Linked DNA regions of Homo sapiens: all the other regions are linked to region 1. Evidence: promoter capture Hi-C in 16 types of primary human blood cells and fetal thymus (Javierre and others, 2016). All regions are on one chromosome and are shown on one strand. Each heading gives the region's core, a stretch centred on a gene start or on the middle of the fragment in contact. The rest is flanking DNA. Distances are from core to core; before and after follow the strand shown. Region 1 holds the start of TBC1D15 (TBC1 domain family member 15). Region 2 has its middle 13 kb from the start of LGR5. Region 3 has its middle 29 kb from the start of LGR5. Region 4 has its middle 46 kb from the start of LGR5.

What was found. The method cuts DNA at HindIII sites, captures the fragments that hold promoters and counts their contacts. A CHiCAGO score of 5 or more calls a contact.
Region 2: a contact is called between a fragment that was not itself captured here and the fragment with the promoter of TBC1D15 in region 1, in 1 of 17 cell types (activated CD4 T cells). The highest score is 5.4, in activated CD4 T cells.
Region 3: a contact is called between a fragment that was not itself captured here and the fragment with the promoter of TBC1D15 in region 1, in 2 of 17 cell types (total CD4 T cells and naive CD4 T cells). The highest score is 5.2, in total CD4 T cells.
Region 4: a fragment that was not itself captured here is called in contact with the fragment with the promoter of TBC1D15 in region 1 in 1 of 17 cell types (activated CD4 T cells); the score reaches 6.9 in activated CD4 T cells.

Annotation. Positions count from the first base shown.
Region 1 is chr12:71,838,488-71,841,187 of GRCh38, reverse strand. TBC1D15 (TBC1 domain family member 15) reads right to left here and starts at 1,429. Exons shown (of 17, transcript NM_001146213.3): 1 at 1,377-1,429. The coding sequence starts at 1,406. The HindIII fragment of the contact is 6,842 bases long and covers 1-2,700 here.
Region 2 is chr12:71,425,687-71,428,386 of GRCh38, reverse strand. No RefSeq gene overlaps it. Among named protein-coding and RNA genes, the nearest start is that of LGR5, 13 kb to the left of the region's middle. The HindIII fragment of the contact is 1,093 bases long and covers 716-1,808 here.
Region 3 is chr12:71,409,346-71,412,045 of GRCh38, reverse strand. No RefSeq gene overlaps it. Among named protein-coding and RNA genes, the nearest start is that of LGR5, 29 kb to the left of the region's middle. The HindIII fragment of the contact is 713 bases long and covers 942-1,654 here.
Region 4 is chr12:71,392,533-71,395,232 of GRCh38, reverse strand. No RefSeq gene overlaps it. Among named protein-coding and RNA genes, the nearest start is that of LGR5, 46 kb to the left of the region's middle. RefSeq lists a silencer at 2,390-2,684. The HindIII fragment of the contact is 1,546 bases long and covers 586-2,131 here.

The DNA of each region.
Region 1 (2,700 bases), core at 180-2,679:
AGTCCCAGCCTGGATCAGTTTAGATGGAAAATCAAACAGGATAATCTTCAAATACGCAGTAAGTCAAGCAGTATATCAGCATCCACCCTGAATATAAAAAGAAAAAAACTGACAAGACAACCAAGGAGCACGAATAATCCAAAAAAGGATGCCCACCTATCCTTTAAAAGAGCCAGTAGGTACAAGTGTGTAATTTTATGTTTTTTTAAAAAAAAATTTATATAACCCTAACAACTCCAATACAAGAAATAATGATTGGCATCTCCTCCATTCTACAGATAAAGAACGCGAAAAGACAAAAGTCACAATTGCCCAATTTTCCAAGGTCATACTTCAGATTAACAGCAAAACCAAGCCCATATTTGTCATTCAGCCGCCTAGTCTAATACTCCAAACACCAAACCACAAACGCTGTCAAATAATTCAAAATGGGGTAGGGAAAGCAACAGGGAGACATGAGTGAAACTCAAGGAACAGAGGACGCTATCTGCAATGAGTAAACAACCATTAGTGTTCGATGAGTCACTTCAGTTGATTCCAGCTGTTTATGAAATACTCCTGCACTGGGAAATACTATCGGTGGCATATCATAAAGCTGATAGCCCTAACTATGCATAAGATGTGCCCTCGGAACGCGAATAGGCACTATTCGACGAAATCTCCGCACGTAATTCTAGTTTCCAACGAAATTAGGCGTGTCACTGACCACCTCCGTAAACCAGCATGACCAATACTCCTACTGAAATGCCTAGGAAATAAATATTTGGACGCCTTCCTAGACAAGCACAGGATGGTGTAAATCTCCATTTCTCTCAGGAAACACGTCCTGCTGCTCACAACCACCAACCAACTCAGCAGCTTGGTAAAAACAGACCCAATACACTCGTTTCTTCTAAGCGCACAGCTAGCTGCCTAGCATCTATTCAGCTCCTCCCGAAGGAAGCATAAACATCTTCACCAAACTGTAGCAAAGAAGACAGAGGCAAGTCGGGTTAACGCTTCAAAGAGAGAAAAGACGCTGGAGTCAGAAGAGTAGACATAAAGAACTAGAGTCAAGAAACAGTGAATCGGGGGAAAAAAGGAACTAGAGAGCCACCTGTCCCTTAGTAAAGGTAATACGAATAAAAGCCTCTCTGCTCTGGGGCAGAAGAGCGCCGAGGCCTAGCTGGCCTTGGAGCAGTAGCCGGCTCTATAACTCCGCGGCTGAACTGGCATTCTCGGGAAACCAGCTGGTACCACCCAGTCTTCTCCTACAGACGCCACGGGTTGTCCGGACACAGAAAGTCCCTCGTGTCCCTCCCCCAACCAGCTGCCAGGGAGCAAAAGCATCCCCGTCCCAGAGAAAAGCCGAGGTCTTCCTGGAGGCCGTTACCTACCTTCCCGCTCACAACACCCGCCGCCGCCATGTTTCCTGCGCGTGCCTGGTAATGACGTAGCAGAACCTCACGTGTCTCTCGGACATACAACAACATCCGGCAAAACTAGAATAACATCCGGGCGGGAAAAGGGCGGGGAGTGGCGGGAAGGGAGTGGAGGAAAGGAGCCGGGCGGAAAAAAGCCGCCTGACGCGTGCGTGCTGAACTGGGCTCAGAGACGGCTGGGGTGGAGTCTCAGGCCTAACGCTACGCTTGTGCTTGCCCCACGTCCTCCCCAAGGAAGACTGCTAAAATAATGTGTACCTTACTTGTATTGGAGTTTGTCGAGACTCTGAAGCTAGCGCAGGCCACGCCAGTTTGGTGAGATGAAACGAATACCATACTGGAAGCCAGCAAGATTTGTCCTGGTTTTTTGTTGTTGTTGTAGAAAAGGAGTCTCGCTCTGTCGCTCAGGCTGGAGTGCAGTGGCGCGATCTCGGCTCATTGCAGCCTCCGCCACTCGGTTCAAGCGATTCTCAAGCCTCAGCCTCCCGGGTAGCTGGGATTACAGGCGCGCGTCAAACGCCCAGCTAATTTTTAAATTTTTATTAGAGACGAGATTTCGCCAATGTTGCCCAGGCTGGTCTCGAACTCCTGACTTCAGGTGATCCGTCCGCTTCAGCCTTTGCCCAGAGAGCTGGGATTACAGGCTTGAGCCACCGCGCCCAGCCCATTAGCCTGGTTTTGTGGCAGTAGGCAAATCACCAGTGCACTCGAAACCTCAGTTTCTTATAGTAAAATCAAGATAGTGGCGTTGCGGTGAAGATCCAAGAAAGAGCAGCACTAACATGGAGATATCCCAGGCACTATACATGGAGACTTTTCCCCTCTGTATATGAGGTTTCTCTATTTGTCTGGTCACTGCCACTCACACATGACCTCCAGCAAGGTATTTCGATAGGAACTGTGATAATACCACGCCCTCATAGCTGCAGAGCCCAAGGCACATAGTTTATAGCACCTACACATTACTTATTAGCTCTGTGACTTAAAGCAGGTTTCTAAATTTATCAGAGCTTCAGGATGTAAACTGGGAATTACTCCTGCATGGAGTGGTTGTAGGGATTTCATACGACAATACATGTGTGGTAAAATGATTTGTAAAGATACTAAGGTAAGAATTTTACTTGTTCTCAGTGCTGTAAAAGAATGCAGAGAATGATTATATACTACCCCCTTGATAACTCTGGCACAGATCTGGGATTTCCCTAGCTCCGGGGCAGAATAAAAAGTCCCTTTCACCAAAAACACTTGTGTCCATTGAGGTACTTCCGTCTTCACACAG
Region 2 (2,700 bases), core at 13-2,512, 410 kb after region 1:
ACTTTGAAATAGCCTATTATGTAAAATCAATCAGATCTGTCCTTGATTTTATCCAACATAAAGGAAACCTTTAAATATATCCACATGTTCACAACGTTCGAAAAGAAAGGACAGTGGTATATGATATTATCAATTGTTTAACTCTGTTTGATCCCCTTGTCTAATTCCATGTATGATAATGAACATGCTCCTACTGGTATGCAGCCTGCTTCCTGAGAACATATGCCCAATCAAACTCACATGTAAACTAGGGGTAGGTTTTCTTTTAAAACCAGGAATAAAATTAATGAGAAAAAAATAACAAAATACTTGAAATTGCATGATCTTCCTGCTCATTTGTGTGCTTTATTTAATTCTGCCAAATATTACCTTCATTTCCAGACGTGGATACTTCCATATGCCCAATGTGATGGATCTTTTTCTGGTCTTGTTAGAACTTCACTTTTAGGATTTTTAACCATCTATCATGTCCATGTGTTCGTACTTAAATGGCAGGGCACAGACAAACTTGGGCTGTGCTCCAAAATGATGAAGTGCTAACAGGTTCCTTTTTTGCAAAGCTGCTTCCCCCAAGTCCTGCAGCTAGAGTATGTATAGACCCAAAATCCTTCATCTGCAGTTTTGAAATCCTAAGAGTTCTGAAAAGGGAAGGTTTTTTTGAAACATATTTGGTGGCATCATTTAAACTGAACTGATGTGAATCTATTTATAAGCTTTCTCTCATGTCATGTAAATATTCATTGAAGTTGCTGCAGAAATATGGATGTGTTTGATTGTAGGGTATTTCCCCAAACCCAACTGAAGATTTTATGTAATATATAGGATATCACTCTTAATATATTCTATTTCTAAAATCCTCCAAAATTCCGAATTCTGTAACATCTGTCACCCTGATGTTTTTGGCTAAGGAACTGTAGATCTGTAAACATCACCCAACCATGGAATACCTATCCAATAAACTATTTTTTGAAGAAAAAGAAGACAGAAAAGCAACAGAACTCATTGTATGAGGAAAAGGTGGAAAGTGTCATTGAGAGGAAAACCTAGAGAGAGAAGAAAGGAAGTAGCCAGCTCAGATGAGATGAGCAGCCATTACTGGGCACAGTCCCCTTTGCAGAGTACAGGTACAGGGCACAGTCCCCTTTGCAGAACTCCCTGTATTCCCACTCTTGACAAACATTTGTGAAAAGGCTAGTATAAAGCATTCTATATGTTAGGGCTTAACTCTCTCAAACGCTAGAGAATAAATACAGTGGGTAAGCATATTTCAGAATAGAGAAAATCAGAAGTGTTGAGCAGAAATAGTAAAAGTAAGGAGATGGAATGATAAAGCTCACCTAGAAGAATAAATTTTGTGGATTTTATCCCAAGGACATGCAGGATTTATAAAGTAAATAAGTAAAAACATGCTATTTCCCAAAATGTTGTATTTTGATAAGTCTGGTGTATTTTAATTGAGTATGTATAGTAGCATTTCACTGCAATTACAATCTCATAAAGCAGGGTAAAACATATTGCATAAACACTGCGGCTCTAGTCAATGAGTCATAGTAAAACACTGTCCAGATTACCGCAATTAAAATTTACAGAAACCTTTTGTCGAGTATTATTATGGTTGTGGATTAACAAAATGACCCTGCTTGCTTTCATTGTTCTTTAATAAGAAATAACATTTTGATTTTAAGTTTCATTGATTTTTTTGCTTGGATTTTAGATGGGCAGTTTGCCAAGATAAATCTCATTGCTGTTTTTAAAAAAGTCTGAATACATTTTTAAAGAGATGATCCCTTTTGTTTTCTTACCAAGCTTTATTTGTTTTGCTCATATCTTTTCTGCTTTTCTCACTCATATTTTCTCCCTATTTTCCCCTCAGGATTGCTGGAAATGGGTGGGATGGGGTGAGGGTCATTGGCTGAGTCACCTAGTAGAAGGGGAGTATGGCATAATAGCACAATATAGCCTTTGGATTCCCACAAGCCAGGATTCAAATCTCTACTCAGTCATTTATAAGCTATGAGACTTGGAGAAACTTATCTCTGAGTTTCTTCATCTGCAAGATGAGGATAATTGCACCAAGTCTGTAGAACTGTTAGTAGAATGAAAGCTAATGTGTGTTAAAGGGCTTCGCATGAAGTAACACTTACTATATAACAGCAATAAGGGACTTTTCATTCTTTTCCTTAGGGGTTTTCCCCTTAAGAGAGTCTTTACAACTCTACAGAAATGGGAGGACAGAAACACACAAATAGATCCTTTCTCCTTCCTCTCTTCCTTCCTTGCTTCCTTTCTTCTTTCCTAATGATATGAGTACTTTGAACATTTATCATGATTTCATGAAAGCAGAGTATGTCACAAAATTTTGGGGCCAACTCTGTTGGGAACATTTGTTAGTGAAACATTCTTACTGAGTTACATTTAACAGGCCACAGTTTCCAGTTTTAGTGAAGCTTCAGTTCCCAATCTTAACCAGAATGCGTTTATTCAAAGACATTGATTGCCCATCCAAATAGATGCCAAGCACTGGGAATGTGGGAATAAATACATATGGAACCTGCTTTCAAACAGTTCACTGCTGAGTTGAGAAGAGACATGGAAAACAAATAATTAAAATGTTGCACAATAACCAGGATGAAAACATATGCTGTTAGGGAAAGAAGGAGGTGAAACTAACTCTGCTTCAGAGAAAGGTTTCATAGAAAA
Region 3 (2,700 bases), core at 49-2,548, 430 kb after region 1:
CAGTTTTATTCCATTGTGGTCTGAGAGGATACTTGATATAATTTTAATTTTCTTAAATTTATTGAGACTTGTTTTGTGACTTATCATATGGTCTGTCTTGGAGAATGTTCCATGTGCTGATGAAAGAATGTATATTTTTCAGTTGTTGGGTAGAATGTTCTGTAAATATCTGTTAAGTCTATTTGTTCTAGGATATAGTTTAAGTCCACTGTTTCTTTGTTGACTTTCTGTCTGGATTACCTGTCTAGTACTGTCAGTGGAGTATTGAAGTCCCCGCTATTATTGTGTTGCTGTCTATCTTATTTCTTGGGTTTAGTCATAATTGTTTTTATCAAATTGGGAGCTCCAGTAGTAGGTGCATATATATTTAGGTTTGTGACATTTTCCTGTTGAACTAATCCTTTTATCATTAAATAATGTCCCTCTTGATCTTTTTTTTTTTTTTTTAACTATTGTTGCTTTAAAGTCTGTCTTGTCTGATATAAGAGTAACTACTCCTGCTCACTTTTGGTTTCTATTTGCGTGGAATATCTTTTTCCACCCCTTTACCTTAAGTTTATGACAGTCCTTATGTGTTAGGTGAGTCTCCTGAAGACAGGAGATACTTGGTGGGTGGATTTTTATTCATTCTGCCATTCTGTATCTTTTAATTGGAGCATTTAATTCATTTACCTTCAGGATTAGTATTGAGATGTGAGGTACTATTTTATTCATCATGTTAGTTGTTGCCTTAATACCTTGTTTTTCTTTTTCATTGTGTTTTCATTGTATTGTTTTATGGGCCGTGTGAGATTTATGCTTTAAGGAGGTTTTACTTTGGTGTACTTCAGAGTTTCATTTCACTATTGAGAATTGTTTTACAGCATTTCTTGTAGTGTTGGCTTGGTAGTGGCAAATTCAGTGTCTGAAAAAGACTTTATCTCTCTTTCATTTATGAAGCTTAGTTTTGCTGTATATAAAATTCTTGGCTGACAATTGTTTTGCTTCAGGAGGATAATCATGGAATCCCAATCCCTTCTGACTTGTAAAGTTTCTGCTGAGAAATCTGCTGTTAATCTGATAGGTTTTTCTTTATAGGTTATCTGATGCTTTTGTCTCACAGCTCTTAAACTTCTTTCCTTTGTGTTGACTTTAGAAAACCTGATGACTATGTGCCTATGTGATGATGTTTTTGCAATAAATTTCCCAGGTATTCTTTGAGCTTCTTGTATTTGGAAGTATAGATCTCTAGCAAGGCCAGGGAAGTTTCACTCAATTATTGGCTGAAATAAGTTTTTCAAAGTTTTAGATTTCTCTTTTTCCTCAGGAACATCAATTATTCTTAGGTTTGGCTGTTGGACATAATTTCAAAGTTCTTGGAGGCTTTGCTCATTAATTTTTTTTCTTTGTCTTTGTCTGATTGGGTTAATTTGAAAGCCTTTTCTTTGAGCTCTGCAGTTTTCTCTTCTACTTGTTATAGTCTATTGTTGAAACTTCCCAGTGCATTTTATATTTCTCTAAGTGTGTCTTTCACTTCCAGAAGTTGTGATTGTTGTTTCTTTATGATATCTATTTCTCTGGATAATTTTTCATACACATCCTGTATTTAAAAAAATTCTTCAAGTTGGTTTGCACCTTTCTCTAGTATCTCCTTGAGTAGCTTAATAATCAAGCTTTTGAATTCTTTATCTGGGAATTCAGAGATTTCTTCTTGGTTTGATCCATTGGTGGGCAGCTAGTGTGATCTTTTTGGGGTGTTGTAGAACTCTGTTTTGTCATATTACCAGAATTACTATTTTGGTTTCTTCTCATTTGGGTAGAATATTTCAATGGAAAGGTCTGGAATGCAAGGCCTGCTGTTCAGATTCTTTTGTCCCATGGGCTGATCCTTTGATATGATGCTCTTCCACTTCCCCTAGGGATGGGGGTTCCTGAGAGCTGAACTACAATGGTTGTTATTGTTTTTCTGGATCTGGTCACCCAGTGGGGCTACCAGACTCTGAGCTGGTGCTGGGGAATATCTGCAAAGAGTCCTGTGATGTGACTGGTCTTCAGGTCTGCCAGCCATGGTTACCAGCACTTGCCAGTTTTTCAACTGTCTCATGGAATACGCAGTGGTGTGCTGCTTCTGTCAATGCATCTGTGAACTATTTTGGTTTTCCTGGTTCATTCCTGCAGTGCTTCTTGGAGCAAAAGTTAACGGTGTGAGTCTCCATGCATTGTTCTGTTTGTCCAAGTGAGAGCTGCACGTTAACCCTGTTTTCTATCTGCCATCTTGTCCCTCTACATATTATCGTTTATTCTTTTATATTACTTATGTATTTTCATATTTCCTCATTTGCTTTAAAAAGTTTTTGCTTGGCTGGGCGCGGTGGCTCACACCTGTAATCCGAGCACTTTGGGAGGCTGAGGCGGGCGGATCACGAGGTCAGGAGATCGAGACCATCCTGGCTAACACGGTGAAACCCGGTATCTGCTAAAAACACACAAAAAATTAGCCGGGCGTGGTGGCGGGTGCCTGTACTCCCAGCTACTGGGGAGGCTGAGGCAGGAGAATGGAGTGAACCTGGGAGGCGGAGCTTGCAGTGAGCCGAGATTGCACCACTGCACTCCCGCCTGGGCGACAAGAGTGAGACAGTCTCAAAAAAAAAAACAAAAAACAAAAAAACAAAGTTTTTGCTCAATCTATCTATTCTCCATTACCACTGTGAAATCTCTCTC
Region 4 (2,700 bases), core at 109-2,608, 450 kb after region 1:
GATTACAGGCGTGAGCCACCACGCCCGGCCCTGTGTGCCATATTTAACAGAAGATAGTAAGACAAGCTGATCACAGCTGACATCCTGGATACTCACCATCTTCTTGCTTCACAGCCAAACTAACTGAAAGCAAGTAGTTTTACTTAGGACCACAAATTGCCTCCACCTTTCAATCCCATAAAGCAATTTTAAATGTGGTGACAGCAAGCTGTGAGAGCTGAAGAAATTTTATAGAGGCTTGCTATAGAATTTCAGGCATTGTAGCCTGGTTATAAATAGCTGAGAGACAGTTTCTACCATTAGATCACTTTAACATCCAGCAATTGATCTGTATCTTTCAGTACTTGAAGTGAAAGAGGGAGAACCACAAATTGTGATGCGGCATCTAAGAATAGTTAATTAGTGCATGGATTATGTTTTCAAACTGGAAAACAGTGGGCAATGCTCAGAAGTTAAGAGGTGAAATATGGAGGCATTAATTCATTTCTCTGACTATAACTTATGAGTACTTAATGTGTGCTCTGCACTGTTTTAGGAGCTGGGGAAACATCAGTAAACAAAACAAGTTTGTGCCACCACAAAGCTTATCTTCTAGTGCAAGATACAAATAATAAAAAGTTAACAAATGTGTAATATAATGTAAGGTAATAATAAATGCTTTAAGAAAAAATATGCAGGATGAAGGGATAGAATGATAGGTGTTCTAATGTAGATGAAATAGAGACTGCTTCTTTGACAGGTGACAGACAGTTGAGCAGAGACCTGACTGAAGCGATAGAGCCACTTATTGGAATACTGGGAGGAGAAATCTGTTCAGCAGAGGAAACTGCATAGACAAAAACCCCTAAATTGGGAAAAAGCATGGCTTTTTCAAGTAGCAGCAAGGAGGGCAGTGTAGAGTGGGATGAACAGGACATGCAGTTGGAAAGTAGAGCCAAGGATCATATTAAGATGGGCTTGTAAACTAAGGTAACAGGTTTGGATTTTATTTTGAATGTGATAAAAAGCCACTGGAGGCTTTAAACACAGAAATAATTAAATGTAGCATTTTTTGGGCTATAACAGACGAGTGGAAGCAAAGTATTTGTTATGAGGCAGTTGTAGTAGTTAGCAAAGTGAAGGTTTATGAAGAAAAGGATCAAAGTAGTAGCTGTGTAGTTGGTGAGAAGTGATGGGATTTGGAATGTATTTTGAAGGTAAATTCAGAATTTGCTAATGGTTTGGGTATGGAATATGAAAGACATCTAAAGAGACTACAGGTTTTGGGTCTAAGCCATTGGGCCAATAGTGATGCCATTAAATTACATATCTACAGATTTAAGAAGAGATGGCAGGAGGTAAACTGGAGGGAAGGCAGAATGACAGCCAAATAACTCTTATCAGGGCTGGACTGAAAGCAGGAAGTGGGTGAAGGTAGTCTGATGGGTTGGCTATGGAGTAAGTACATTAACCCGGTTTCATCATTTGCCTACATTTTTTCACATATCAATGTCTAATTACTGATGTTTCAGTAAGATGTGAACTCGCCGATGTTTTGCTTTCACAGTGGTTCTTCCAGTATCTTTTCATTATAATCTTAGCGGTTGTGTTAATCCATTAACTGCCTACAAAAAGTGGTTAATTGTTGCCATGTCTGGAAACTATGTTGAAGAAGCAGTTGGTTTCTTGGTTCCCTCTGCACTGGAGTGTGATCTGTGGTGACTTTTATGGATTGGGAAGAAAAGTGAAATAAATCATATGATAAATGAGCATTGGACTGGGAGTTAGGCCTACTGAGTTTCAGACAATCCCAACTCTATTAACTGTGTGACCTGGGATAGGACATCGAAACTCTAAGGGCCTTGGTTTTCTCATCTACCTAGTTAGTGGCTTAGATAATCTATATAATAGAATAATCCTTAGTACACTAAACTCTAGCCTGTAGTAAGACTGCACATTCTAATCTAAAATATTTATTTATAATAGTCAGTGTATTTGTAGGATGGCAATGGCTGAAAATAATAGTAGAAAACACACATGGAAAGCAGCTTTAAAAGTGAGGATAATTTATTATAACATAAAAAAAGATTCTGAGTTAAGGTGGCTCCAGATTTGATTAATATTTATTACCTTATAGGATTATTATGAAGCTTATCCTATGAGGTAATAAAGTTATCTCCACTTTACAGATGTGTTAACTGACAAGCAAAAAGTTTAATTCATTTTTTCGGTCACGAAGCGAGTAAGAAGTACAGCAAGGTTTTATTTACATAGGCTGCCTAACTCCTAATCACGCTTTTAATTGCTAGGCTCTACCGCCTTTTTTGGCCACTAAATCAGGACACTTTTAATGACCTTGTTTTCTTTGTCTCCTGATATCAAGATAAGTGGGAAACCATTTATATACTTGAAAAATAATAATCACCAGATTAACTACCCAGTACCGGTGAGAGCTGATTCATGGTCTTACAAGAGAAAGGTTGCTATTTTTAACATGCAGTGATAGCCTTTGACCACTAGAGGACACTTTGTAGACAACATCTTTTAGGACACAGCGACTGCCTTCACTAGCCTTAGCTCTTCAGTCAGTACCATGTTTTATGCCTCAGAAAAGAGGGTCCTCTGGCTACTGCTGAAAGTCTGCGTCATAAGCTCCTCGTGGCCATTTGGGGGTTCTAGCTTTGTCTCAGAGTGGCTCCCACGTTGGAGCTATCTTCCAAA